Regions from separate parts of the Homo sapiens genome. Here all the other regions are linked to region 1. The links are contacts of gene promoters, found by promoter capture Hi-C in human tissues and cell types (Jung and others, 2019). All regions are on one chromosome and are shown on one strand. The core of a region is centred on a gene start or on the middle of the fragment in contact, and the rest is flanking DNA. Distances in the headings are between cores, read along the strand shown. Region 1 holds the start of KCNA10 (potassium voltage-gated channel subfamily A member 10). Region 2 has its middle 59 kb from the start of KCNA3. Region 3 has its middle 13 kb from the start of RBM15. Region 4 has its middle 24 kb from the start of KCNA3.

What was found. Contacts are between HindIII fragments. The study calls those that stand out against the background at their distance.
Region 2: a fragment that was not itself captured here is called in contact with the fragment with the promoter of KCNA10 in region 1 in 2 of the 25 tissues and cell types used here (dorsolateral prefrontal cortex and spleen).
Region 3: a fragment that was not itself captured here is called in contact with the fragment with the promoter of KCNA10 in region 1 in 2 of the 25 tissues and cell types used here (hippocampus and stomach).
Region 4: a contact is called between a fragment that was not itself captured here and the fragment with the promoter of KCNA10 in region 1, in 2 of the 25 tissues and cell types used here (ovary and thymus).

Annotation. Positions count from the first base shown.
Region 1 is chr1:110,517,690-110,520,894 of GRCh38, reverse strand. KCNA10 (potassium voltage-gated channel subfamily A member 10) reads left to right here and starts at 1,720. Exons shown (of 1, transcript NM_005549.2): 1 at 1,720-3,205. The coding sequence starts at 2,108. The HindIII fragment of the contact is 7,025 bases long and covers 1-3,205 here.
Region 2 is chr1:110,732,634-110,735,838 of GRCh38, reverse strand. No RefSeq gene overlaps it. Among named protein-coding and RNA genes, the nearest start is that of KCNA3, 59 kb to the right of the region's middle. The HindIII fragment of the contact is 4,663 bases long and covers 1-3,205 here.
Region 3 is chr1:110,350,546-110,353,750 of GRCh38, reverse strand. No RefSeq gene overlaps it. Among named protein-coding and RNA genes, the nearest start is that of RBM15, 13 kb to the right of the region's middle. The HindIII fragment of the contact is 6,528 bases long and covers 1-3,205 here.
Region 4 is chr1:110,649,773-110,652,977 of GRCh38, reverse strand. No RefSeq gene overlaps it. Among named protein-coding and RNA genes, the nearest start is that of KCNA3, 24 kb to the left of the region's middle. The HindIII fragment of the contact is 3,152 bases long and covers 1-3,081 here.

The DNA.
Region 1 (3,205 bases), core at 471-2,970:
TCCAGAGAAGTTCCTGATAAGGGTCACTCTAGCCTTGGCTAGAACCATGGAAGTGGTTCCCAAACCTTGCCCAAAGCTCACTGATGGTACTCATTCCTCTCAGAAAGCGGGACTGATTCACACCTGGAAGATAATCATCAGGGAGCACCATCTGCGGTCCAAGACCCCAAAGGAGAAAATGGTGCTCCGAAGACATGAGATCAACACAGAGCTGGAGTCCCCCACCCACAGCCATCCAGCTGCCAAGCAGTTCAGGACAAGGCCCCCAAATCATCATGCGAATTACTGTGAAGCTACATTTCTCCAGGGCTTTACCATGTACAGAGCCAGGATTTGAACTCGGGTGGACTGATTCTATTCTCAGATTCCATCCTGCCTCCCAGCCATCCTACTGCTCACCGAGCCTTGCAGAGCAGGCTGGCACCTGGCATGCTTGGCAGTGGGTACATCCTTCCTCATTCCACAACTGAGGAAGCAGCAGCTCCGTGAAATTAGGCCGTTTGCAATGGCCACATACTCCTGAGAGGTAGAATGGGTACTCTACCAGTGCTGACCAACCAGACTTGAGCTCATCATTCAACACATGGCACCTGAACTGAGAAAAGGGGTCATGGGATGGAAAGAGCTCTGGACCCCTGACAATTCTGTGGCCCTAGCCTACAGCTCCCCACAAGGCTCAGCTCCTATATAGGGACTCCATGGTCTAGTGGGAAAGGCCCTGGGCCAGAAGGCCATGGCCAGGTTTAGGTCAGGACTCTGTAGCACTAGTTATGTGACCTTAGGAAGTCACTTTGTCCCTGTGACTTGGTTTCCGCATCTGCAAAACAGAGATAACATCTAACCTCACGTGATTATTGTCATCTAGTGAGATAAGTGAATGTGGAATCACTTTGAAAAGACTACAACACTACACTGCAGGATAGCCTTGTCGCCTGTAAAGGAAACCTCTCCAAGGCTGTGACCACTACAGATTTTGCCTGAGGTTAAGTCCCTTACTTCTCTCCCACTCCCACCCCCAGCCTGCCTGGGTTCAGTGTTCTTAAATTGAAACTGAAGCTAGAATGAACCTGAGGAAAGAAATATTAGTCTATGTGTATAGATGTCCAAGCCCACTGGGCATGATTTCCTAACCCCACCTCCAGCGTGCGCGCGCACACACACACACACACACACACATATACACACACACACACAGACACACACAATTATTTACTTCCTTCCCACCTAAAATGATTTCTCAAAATGAAATTACTTCCTATGGACACCTTGGACTCAGGCCAAAAAAAATTCCAATTGCTGGTAGTTTCTAAAGTGCTTGTTATGTGGGAAAGTTGACAAAAAACAATAGCTATAATATAGTGATCTTTCTTTCCACCAAGCATTCCATACGTGTTATCTCATTTGAGGTACCTTCAAAACAACTCTAGGAGTTATTTCCAGGTGAGGGGTCATTTAGAGGACATTGTCGATTGGCCAACCCAGCGTCTTGTTTTTCCTTCCCTAAAGAATCCCCATTGGGTTCATAGATCTGGTTCCACCCTTCACCACTTGGTCCAGAAGCAGGGGTGGAAGTGATGCAAAATGGTTGAATTCTAGATATATTTTGAAGACATGACCAAAAGGATGTGTGAGGGACTGGCTGTTGGTGTGAAAGAGAGGCATTACGAATGAGATTGGGCATGGAGACGTGTTTGGTGAGACAGAAGGCTTCATGCAAATACAAGATCATGCTTTTTATTATTAAGGAATGTTAACTTCCTCTTTTAGTATGGCCCCTCTGCCATCACATATGGAGACCATCCTTTGCTGGGGAGAATCTCCCCTTCTTTGCCAGGATCCTTTTTTTGCAATTTCTCCTAGTTATTAGTTTATGCAAACTCAGGGGTACAAAATGATTTTAAGGGAAGCATGCTGCCAAAATAACCATGACGTTCCTTCCCAAGCTACAAATAAGTCATTGATTAGCCCATTGGTGTACCTTACCTCAATAAACAAGGGCCAGTTGTATTCTGCCCTGGATCTTGTATAATGAACTTCTTCTTCTCCATAGCTCACAGCAGGCAGTGAAGGCTGAGGATCTTCATGCTTCTTCCCTGGCTCCCCTAGAATGGATGTGTGTGGCTGGAAAGAAATGGAGGTTGCGCTGGTCAATTTTGATAATTCAGATGAAATCCAAGAAGAGCCAGGCTATGCCACAGACTTCGACTCAACCAGCCCAAAAGGCCGGCCTGGGGGCAGCTCCTTCTCCAACGGGAAGATCCTCATCAGCGAAAGCACCAACCATGAGACGGCCTTCTCCAAGCTTCCGGGAGACTATGCTGACCCCCCAGGGCCTGAGCCAGTGGTCCTAAATGAAGGAAACCAGCGGGTGATCATCAACATTGCTGGGCTGAGATTTGAGACCCAGCTCAGAACCCTTAGTCAGTTCCCAGAGACTCTCCTGGGAGACCGGGAAAAAAGGATGCAGTTCTTTGACTCCATGAGAAATGAGTATTTCTTTGATCGGAACCGGCCCAGTTTTGATGGAATCCTATATTATTACCAATCTGGTGGGAAAATTCGGCGCCCAGCCAATGTTCCCATTGATATCTTTGCTGATGAAATCTCCTTCTATGAGCTGGGTAGTGAGGCCATGGACCAGTTCCGGGAGGATGAAGGCTTCATCAAAGACCCTGAAACACTGCTACCCACCAATGACATCCACCGTCAGTTCTGGCTCCTCTTTGAGTACCCTGAAAGTTCCAGCGCTGCCCGTGCTGTGGCCGTGGTCTCGGTGTTGGTTGTGGTCATCTCCATCACCATCTTCTGCCTGGAGACACTGCCAGAGTTCCGGGAGGATAGGGAGCTAAAGGTGGTCAGAGACCCCAATCTCAACATGAGCAAGACAGTCCTCTCCCAGACCATGTTCACCGACCCTTTCTTCATGGTGGAGTCTACCTGCATCGTGTGGTTCACCTTCGAGCTGGTGCTCCGGTTCGTGGTCTGCCCCAGCAAGACTGACTTCTTCAGGAACATCATGAACATCATTGACATCATCTCCATTATCCCCTACTTTGCAACTCTCATCACAGAGCTAGTCCAGGAGACAGAGCCGAGTGCCCAACAGAACATGTCCCTGGCCATCCTGAGGATCATCCGCCTGGTGAGGGTCTTCCGCATCTTCAAGCTCTCGCGCCACTCCAAGGGGCTGCAGATCCTCGGGCAA
Region 2 (3,205 bases), core at 223-2,722, 220 kb before region 1:
AGGGTGGGGGTAGGGAGAGGGCACACCCAAGCCAACAGGACTGTAGAATGGAGGAATCAGATTTGAAGACTTTTCTTTTATCTCTGCTTTCCTTTAAGTTTTGAATCTAGCAAGAGGTCCTCCTGTCTTTCCTGCTTTTCTTCTCACACCACTACTTAAGAACTGTTCTGGCCACACAGGAGCTTTCCTGACTAAAGCCAGAAAAGGGAAAGGTAGCTGGGCAGAGTCAGCTTTCCACAGCCAGCCTAGACCACTGCTCCCTGCCTGTCATCCTCAGTTGAAGCCAACGAACATCCTTTGAGACCCAGCTCTGCAGTGACCACTCTCCAAAGCCCCTCCTCAGCCCAGGACAGAGTTGGGGCCCCACTGTACTTCGTTTGCATTACAATCTCTCAGCTGCACTGTTTGTTTTTGTTCTCATGTTTGTGTCCCCCTGGTACTCTGGGCATCTTGAGGGCAGAGAATGGGGCTCCATTTATGCCTGAACTCCCGGCACCCAGCACTGTCAGTCTCAGAGCAGAAGCTTGGTGAGTGTAGAAATGGGATTTACTGACCACCTTTTTAGGATTAGGCACTGAGGACACAGAGATGGAGACCACATCCTGATTTCAAGTTGCTAATGGTCCAATGAAGAGCTGTTTTAAAGTACACAGTAGGTATACATACGGTAGGCCCCTGGAAGGAAGATTTTGTTATCATCATTATCATCACCATCATCAGCAGCAATGTCTGCTTAGCCCTCAAGAAGTCCTCCAGGATGTTTTCAAGAGACTTCAGCTCCTTCTCCTGGAGATAGTACCCAGCTACTTCCTACTTTAAGTGCTAACAGTTCTGCAGTCCCCCGCACCAATAACACCTTGCTTGTCAAAGTACCCTGGAACACATGCCCATACATTCCCCACGCCCTCTGAAAATGCTTCCTGATCTCCCATTGCCACCCCAGCCACTTGCCCTTTGTTAAGCCAAAGGACAAACCATCATTTTGCCTGGTCAATAACTGCCCTTCTCTTTCCTTCCCACAAGAGAAGGGGCCATCTCACCATCTCTGCAGCCCTCAGCTGCAAACAAACATTACCCAGGAGCAGGACTTGACTAAGGAAAACAAGGCGCTAAAGACAGCTGGAAGGAGGGCTGCAGGGTCCTATGCAGGGAACCGTAGGTCACAGCACAGAAATGTGGAACCTACGAAGAGCATCAAAACATTATTCATGGGAAGGGGGAGATGGAGGACGGACCAGGGACTGGCTCTAGCTCTGCAGGGGACTGGAGCATCACTCCCCCAGAGCCACTGTTTTCAGTAGCCTAAAGCCAATTGCTTGGCACTGCCCACCCACTCAGTGTCCTCCTCTGCTCCTTTTGGATATGATCTGGGGTGGCGAGATGAAGGGTGATCAAATGACTGTGTATTTCTACCCTTTTCCGTAGTCATGGAAATGGATGAGGAGAACTGGCAGAGAGAGGGGTGGGAGGTAACTTTGGCCCTGAGCCAATCCTTCCCTGAAAAGGCTTGGCAGGGCATTCTCACTCTGACTTACATCATGGAGCTCCAGGCAGCCTCACAGGCATAGAGGGCTCTGGCTCCCACAGCTCCAGCCTACAAATCTAGCTTTGATTTTAGAACTGACTGGCCCTTTCCCTACAGGATAGTGGCTTCCCATGGGGGCATCGCTCAGGGCTACTGCTGTATCAGTCACAAGCCCAGCTGTCAGCTCTTTAGCCTGAGCCCTTATTTCTCTGAATGTCCCTGATTCTTCCCATGCCTCTGAGCATGGCCAGACCAGCCCTAGAGAATCAGGGGCCAGTAACCTAGTCCTTCTCCTCTCCACCTCCCCATCCACACCCAATAGTGATGCTCTCAAAACGGAACAGCCAGGCCAAAAAAAAGGGGGGGTGGTGGGGACAGAATCAGGATTTTAAGGATAGAGGTCATGTTGATAAACATAACATCCTTTCTAGCCCCATTGCGGTTCATGAGCCAAAGATGAGCTAACTACTTGTCTGGTATCTGGGATGTATCCACCTTGGGAGGAAAAGGAAAGAAAGGAGGTCAAACTCTTGCTGGAAGTCATAACTCTCCTCTTAAAAGCCCTCACACATGTTTATATAAAGATCTACAGAAGAATTATTTTGAAGCTTTGTCTCCATTACCTTTCAAAGAGAGACTGTTCTGGGCATGGAAGTAGAAGCTGACAGAGAGGCCAGAGAGATGCCATGAAGGGTCTCACTCTAGGAGGTAGCCCAGCGGCTCGATAAAATACTTGGAAAGAACAATTTGGGGTTAGAAAGGAGACTGAAGCAAAATTAACTATCTCTGCCTATCCTACCTTTCTCTTTGACTTATGCAAGTGATTCCAAGATCCTGGGAAGATGAAGCAATGACAGCTCTTGCTCTGCATTTATTCATCAGGCTGGAAAGAGAAAAGGGGAAGGAGGTGTCTAGAGAATAACTGAGGAAAGAACTGGAAGAACTTCATGAAGTAGAGCCTTGTAGAGAGGTGTGGATTCAAATCTTGGTTATGCTACATATGAATTATGTGACCTTAGGAACATTAACCTCTGTAAGCTTCTACTTCCTCATCTGTAAAATGGATTATCTACTTTGTAGAATGCCTTGAGGGTCAGCTGAGATAATATACTTAAGACAGCACATGCCAACAATGAGTATTTTTTATTATTATCAGAGATAGTATGCCTGGTCTAGATGGGACTCTAGATGAGAGGGCATCAATAGGTTTACTGGGAAGCTGGGCCAGGTGTGACAGGCACTCTGGGGCACTATGCAAGGATTCCCTGCTTTCCCAGCTACCAATTCTGCTGTCACTTTGGAAGCCTTAAGGAAGCAAGAAGAGTCTCCTCTTTGTGCTATGGCTTGGGGTCATAGCTCCAACTCCAGACCATCACAAATGAACTCACATAAACCTTTCAGTAAAAAGGATCTTCTAAAGATGGCTTCTGTCTCCAGCTAAATAGAGAAGGTGCTGTCTATGCATTCAGTTGTATGCAAAATGTAAGAGAACTTTCCTGGCAAGGGGCATAGAAGACAACTGTATGAAGGAAGAGTTGCTATGGAAGAGAAGTTTGATGACAGAAAGACAGGGGTAGCTTGTCTGGAGTGCTTAACCTCTAGGGAGTATGGTGCTCAAACCTGTTACTGAGAAGAGTCAGAGTTGTTTGAGACTTTGCCTGCTCTCTTTCTTCTTCCTCC
Region 3 (3,205 bases), core at 419-2,918, 170 kb after region 1:
GACTAATGCTGTTGGTCTGAGGACCACACTTCAATAACAGATTCTAGAAGACCGAGCAATATACATACTGTACTGAACCCAAATTACATTCTCAAAGTTTTGTGTTTTGATTTTCAAGCAATCCTTAAAAGGCTGATTGTGTGTGTTTGTAGGTATAAAATGTGTCTCTAGAGCAGTGGTTGTCAACCCTGACTGCACGTTACAATCACCTGGGAGCACTTAAAACAAAATGAAAACAAAACTGGGCCTTTGCAGAAACCCACTCAATCTACATCAATTTATATGAATCTCTGAGAGTGGGCCCCAGTCATTGGTATTAAAGTTCCTCAGGTGATTCCATTGTACAGCCAGAGTTGAGACCTCTGCCATAGAATGCAGAAAAATTACAATTAAGGGGTCTAGTTTACTGAAGTGTTTCTGTACATAAATATACACAAATGGCATATATTAAGATACTTATCGTAGGCTGGGCGCGATGGCTCATGCCTGTAATCCCAGCACTTTGGGAGGCCAAGGTGGGCAGATCACGAGGTCAGGAGTTCAAGACCAGCCTAGTGAACAGAGTGAAACCCCAACACTACTAAAAATACAAAAAATTAGCCGGGTGTGGTGGCAGGCACCTATAATTGCAGCTACTCCGGAGGCTGAGGCAGGAGAATCGCTTGAACCCAGGAGGCAGAGGTTGCAGTGAGCCAAGATCACGCCATTGCACTACAGCCAGGGCGACAGTGCAAGACTCCATCACAAAAAAAGAAAGAAAGAAAGATACTTATCTTGGGAGCTAGGTAAAACTATTGATACTCAATTTTTTTTTTTTTTTTTTTTTTTAAGAGATACGTCTTGCACTCCTGGGCTCAAGCAATCCTCCCACCTCGGCCTCCCAAAGCGCTGGGATTACAGGTGCAAGACTCAGCGCCCAGCCTGATAGGCAATTTTTTTTTTTTTTTTGAGACGGAGTCTCGCACTGTCACCCGGGCTGGAGTGCAATGGTGTGATCTCGGCTCACTGCAACCTCTACCTCCCGGGTTCAAGCAATTCTCCTGCCTCAGCCTCCCGAATAGCTGGGATTACAGGCATGCGCCACCACGCCCGGCTAATTTTTTGTATTTTTAGTAGAGACACGTTTTACTATGTTGGCCAAGCTGGTCTCAAATTCCTGACCTCATGATCCAACCACCTTGGCCTCCCACAGTGCTGGGATTACAGGCGTGAGCCACTGTGCCTGGCCTCTGATAGTCAATTTCTATATGCTAAAATGAAAATCAATTTTATGAAACATTAATTTTCCCAATAGGTCTTAAACTGTGTAATAAAAAACATATACGAATACAGCATCCCAAAGTGTTAATAATTTTACCTGTAATAATTATATTGCAGACACTAGTGTAATGACTTAGGCTTATGCATAAAAATTTTTCATTAAGTCCTTTTCCTAGGTAAAAAGGAATCTGCTGGTTACCTCAGAAAGGTCAGATAAATTCAGCACTTAAAAACTGTATACACACATGTATCTTATTTGCATAGGATAACAGCCATTTCACAAAAAGACCCTCTAAACTATTTTTTAGCAAGGGAGTCTGGTTAAATATCACTAGAAAAACTGCAAGTTATGAAATATAGAAAGCATGGTCAGTGTGTTATATCAGTCATATATATGACTACAGTGGAAACTGTCATGACAGTTTATTGAAAGCAGAAAATATGAAGCAGCACATTCAGAAAATGAGGCATCTTCAGAAGGGAGACTGCTTTGAAAGTTCAGAATGGTCAACAACTATGAGCCCTAAAAAGAAATAAAATCTTTATTATTGTATTTAAATAAAAGAACAGTGCTGATCTCTGAACAGGAACATAGTTACAATCTGACAGAGAATCTGTGAAATGCTAAGTAACTTATTTTCTTTGGCATTTGAAGGAAATTTATTACTTTCCTCAGACAGGTAGTCAAATATTGATCAAATCACATCACTCTCTGCTTAAAAACCTACAATGTCTTCCCATAGCAATCAGCACTTAGAATACAATCCAAACCCTTTGTCTGGAGCCTAAAGGCCCTAATTTATAGCTTACCACCTCCTTTCTTCCACCAGACTGTAAGCTCCACAAGAAAAGAGAAAAACGTCTCTTTTTTTTTTTCACAAAGACACTCCCAAGATCTAGAATAATGTCTGATATATAATATGTACTCAAATATTTGAATAGTTCATTGGCTATACTTATCAAACACAAATGCAGTATAGATACTGTAATTCAAAATAATCATTTACAGGACAAAGATACACTCAACTTTACCTATAATGCCTTTGTCTCAATCCTATTGATAACTTAGGAGTAGTAGATATAGGTGATGGTCCATTAATGGAAATAAGTTTCATGTGTACACACTCAATCCCAGCATCACTTTCAATTTTAAGACTATAGTCACAGTATTTTTAGATAGACATCTGAAAACTCAAAGATACCTCAATCAGTTCCTGGCTGTGTATCCTTCAGTTAGTCACAAAACTTTTCTGGTGTCCCTTTAGCATTTCATAAACAAAACAGTGGCCCATCTTCAGGACTGTTATGAGGCAAAATTAAATAGTAATCTAGATTGAGTTTCTTGGAGAAATAATTACATGACTAGAAAACTGTTATGTTACTTAAGTGGCAATTTTAAGTAATAAATTCCATGGCAATTGCAGTTTTGTTCTCCTTGCCTGCTGCAACAGCTTTAAAGTTATCTTCTAGAAGCTCCTCTCAGTTTCTGAGACAACACAATTCTTTTTTTCCTATCTAGGCTTTTTTCCAGCACCATCTTCTCTTCCCATGCCTCAAATATGACATTATCCTAAGTTTACCTTAGTACTCTACTCTCTATGGGCCAGTGTTGCTCAACACATGGCCCACTGACCACAGAATATATCAGAATTACCTGAGGGGTTTGTAAAAGAACAAAGACTCCTAAGTCATGCTGGTCCTAACAAATTCCAGAATGTCTAGGGAGGTACCAAGGGCCTGTACATTTCCCAAGTACTGCCAATGTTCATAAACTATAGTTTGAAATCCATTGCCCATTTTTTCAGGTTTGCAGCTTTAATCTCATTCCTAGCCTCCACGAGTACGGTAACCAAGAGAGCCTTAGCTGGGACAAAGGCCTGGTTAGAACTGTGGCTCTATCACTAAACTGTCAAATTATGGTCTGTGGTGAGACTTAAATGAGACA
Region 4 (3,205 bases), core at 256-2,755, 130 kb before region 1:
ACACACACACACACACACACACACACACACACATATTCCCAAGCTAGTAGGTTAGGATCCTCTTTAGATCCAGAATGGTCAAATATTAAGAACATTTTGTTTTCAATATTTATTTTCCATGTATGCCCAGTGTTTTTGTATCATAAGAGGATAATTTCTAGCATTCACATTTTACATACCAATTGTTCTCATTTTGTGCTTAACAATATTGATCCTTACTCTTTTTCTTTTTCCTAATAATAGCTAGTTACTCAAACGTGTTTTTACTTTTGGAATGTCAACAAATGATACATCACCAAAACAGAGGCCCTCTCTCTTGGATAATTTCTAGCATTCACATTTTACATACCAATTGTTCTCATTTTGTGCTTAGCAATATTGATCCTTACTCTTTTTCTTTTTCCTAATAATAGCTAGTTACTCAAACGTGTTTTTACTTTTGGAATGTCAACAAATGATACATCACCAAAACAGAGGCCCTCTCTCTTGTTTCCATCTGGAATTTTACTTTGTCTAAAAAAACTAAGTGTAGATTTAGATGGCTTTACACATGTGGTGTTAGCTATTAGAGACAAGAACAAAACATATTTTTCTAATCCTCCAATTGATATGAGAAATGACTTTTTAAGCTTTCTTGTCATAGAATTTTGGTGGTGAACTCCATTAGTGACTATTTGTAAAGTTTTTGTTTTGTTTTGTTTTGTTTTGTTTTTTTCTTTTTGAGACAGAGTCTTGCTCTGTTGCCCAAGCTGGAGTGCAGTGGCATGATCTTGGCTCACTGCAACCTCCGTCTCCCATGATCAAGCGATTCTCCTTCCTCAGCCTCCGAGTAGCTGGGACTGCAGGCATGTGCCACCACACCCAGCTAATTTTTGTATATTTAGTAGAGATGGGATTTTACCATGTTGGCCAGGCTGGTCTCAATCTTCTGACCTCAGGTGATCCGCCCACCGGAGCCTCCCAAAGTGCTGGGATTACAGGCATGAGCCACCATGCCAGGCCTAAAGTATTTCATTTTAAGGGACCAAATCTTTAAGTCTTTTGGAAACAATCACAGAGTAAATTAAGAGATGCAGGTTGTTTCCAAGGGATTACCTATATCGTCTTTGAACCATGCCTCTATCCAAAAGAATTCACACCTTTCTGCTGGATTTCAACAGAGACAAATTAGTACACAATTACTGCTGCACACCTCCTATGAGTTAGGACCCACTCAATCGTCCATTCACTTTTCTGTACTTTGTACCAAAACCCTTATAAATCTTGTAACTTTCTCTCCCTTAGATCTACTGTTTATAGGTTTCATTAATCACAATCAAATTGGTTATTTTGTTTCAGAAAATCCTTTTTACATTTGGCGATATCTGGTAACTTGAGTCATAGAGGAGGAGACTATATCATTGAATTAGAAAAGCCAAATGAGGAGCTAAAATTCCAGGGACAATACTGTCTTAAAACGTAAGGTCAGTGAAGTAATTTTTTAGGAAATGGAGCCACAAGAGAAGGAACAAATAGAAATCTGATTTCAAAACACACAATTGACAAGGAAATGAATAAATGTGGCACAGTCCCTCACCCATGCCTGGTTTGATTTGGCATAATAAATGCTTCTAAATGAAGGTGAAGAACACAAATGGATTCATAGGCACTATTCATTAAATTTTACAATGTAGATGCCATGTATTACTAGTTTATACCCATTATGCCAGCCATGAAAACAGACAGTTGTTTCCATATAACCTGAATCTAAAAGTAATCAGAGACAGCATGATGTAAGTTAGTCAGAGGGCCTAATAGGAATCTGGAATCCTGAATAATCGATGATAAATATATCTTAAGTCTAGTTTTCATTTACCTCTATAGAGAAGCTGAGGAATTCTGCAGAGGAAAATGTTTGTGTTTTGTCTTAATTTGTGGCAATAGAGATGGAAATAAGAGAGAGGAAAGTGACATTCATAAATGTGGATGAAAATTTTTGAGGTAGAGTTAATTTTTGCCTTTATTCCTGGAGGCAATTTATAAGGCTATTTTAACTTTGTATGTCCTAGTCTCGAGAAAGTATTGAATTTGTGATTTTAATATGCTGCTCCCTGCAGGCACTTTCCACGCCAGTAGTAATCTCTGCACTATCAGGCCAAGCTCTCAGCATGTGTAATAGCCAAGAAAAAAACTAGCAAACAGAACTCCAGGGGCATGCCATACATGTATGTATAGTTAGACAAGATTAGACAGCTCTACAGGGCACCCCTCAGAGGCAACCCACATTCTCAGAATGTCTGGAATATACATTAATGGGGCATTATATCTGTACTGTGCTTTCTAATATTTACAATATTTTATGCATATATAGTTCAAAGCAACTCTATATACTTAAATATATAAAGTATATATATTCTCTGAAATAGGCAGAGAAGGTAGTATCACATGCTTTTTATAAAAGAAGAAACTGGATGCACAGTTATGCAATTTACCTAAGGTCATGTGGTCAGTAAATGTCAGAAAGTGACTAGAATACAAGGTTTTCTGCCTCCTCATCTGCAGTTCTTTTTGTATAGTCACATTTCCACCCCCCCATCACCCCACTTATCTCAAATTCTGACTTCCCTAAGAAGTGAAGAAACTGAGAGCATTATTATCAGAAAATCTTAAAGAAGAGCAGAAGAAAGCCCTTGTCGTTGTATTTGTCTTATACTTTGTTCACATTGGCGAGCCTAGTCCTGCCTCAGCAAGCCTCAAGATCCAATCCCCTTACCTTAAAGTGAGACACCAAGATAAATAAAAATCCAAGCTCTTCAGACTGAGTCAACCATCATTCCCTTTGTCTATTCATTTATTCTTTCAAAAATATTCGAGTATTTCTCCTTCTCACTTCAGTGGAAAAGTTTTCCCAATCTCTGGAGCTCCAGTCCATCCTGTTCAACCTCCTCCAGAACTTGACTGTATTAAATAACATCTGCCTTTTCCTTATCCTCAGTGTGTCCCCACCTCAGAATCTATGATCGGTGAATATGTTTCCTTGACCATTGTTAGCTCTATTTGCCCCCTTCCACTCAAAGCCAAACTTCTTAATAAGAAGTTGTCTCTACTTCCTGACCCCTCATTTATTTGACTTTCGGCTACAGTGTTATTCCTCTGTAATCTGGCTTTGGTCTCCACTTCTACACTGAACATTTCCTTAATACTAGTTTCTTTCTCATACATCAAT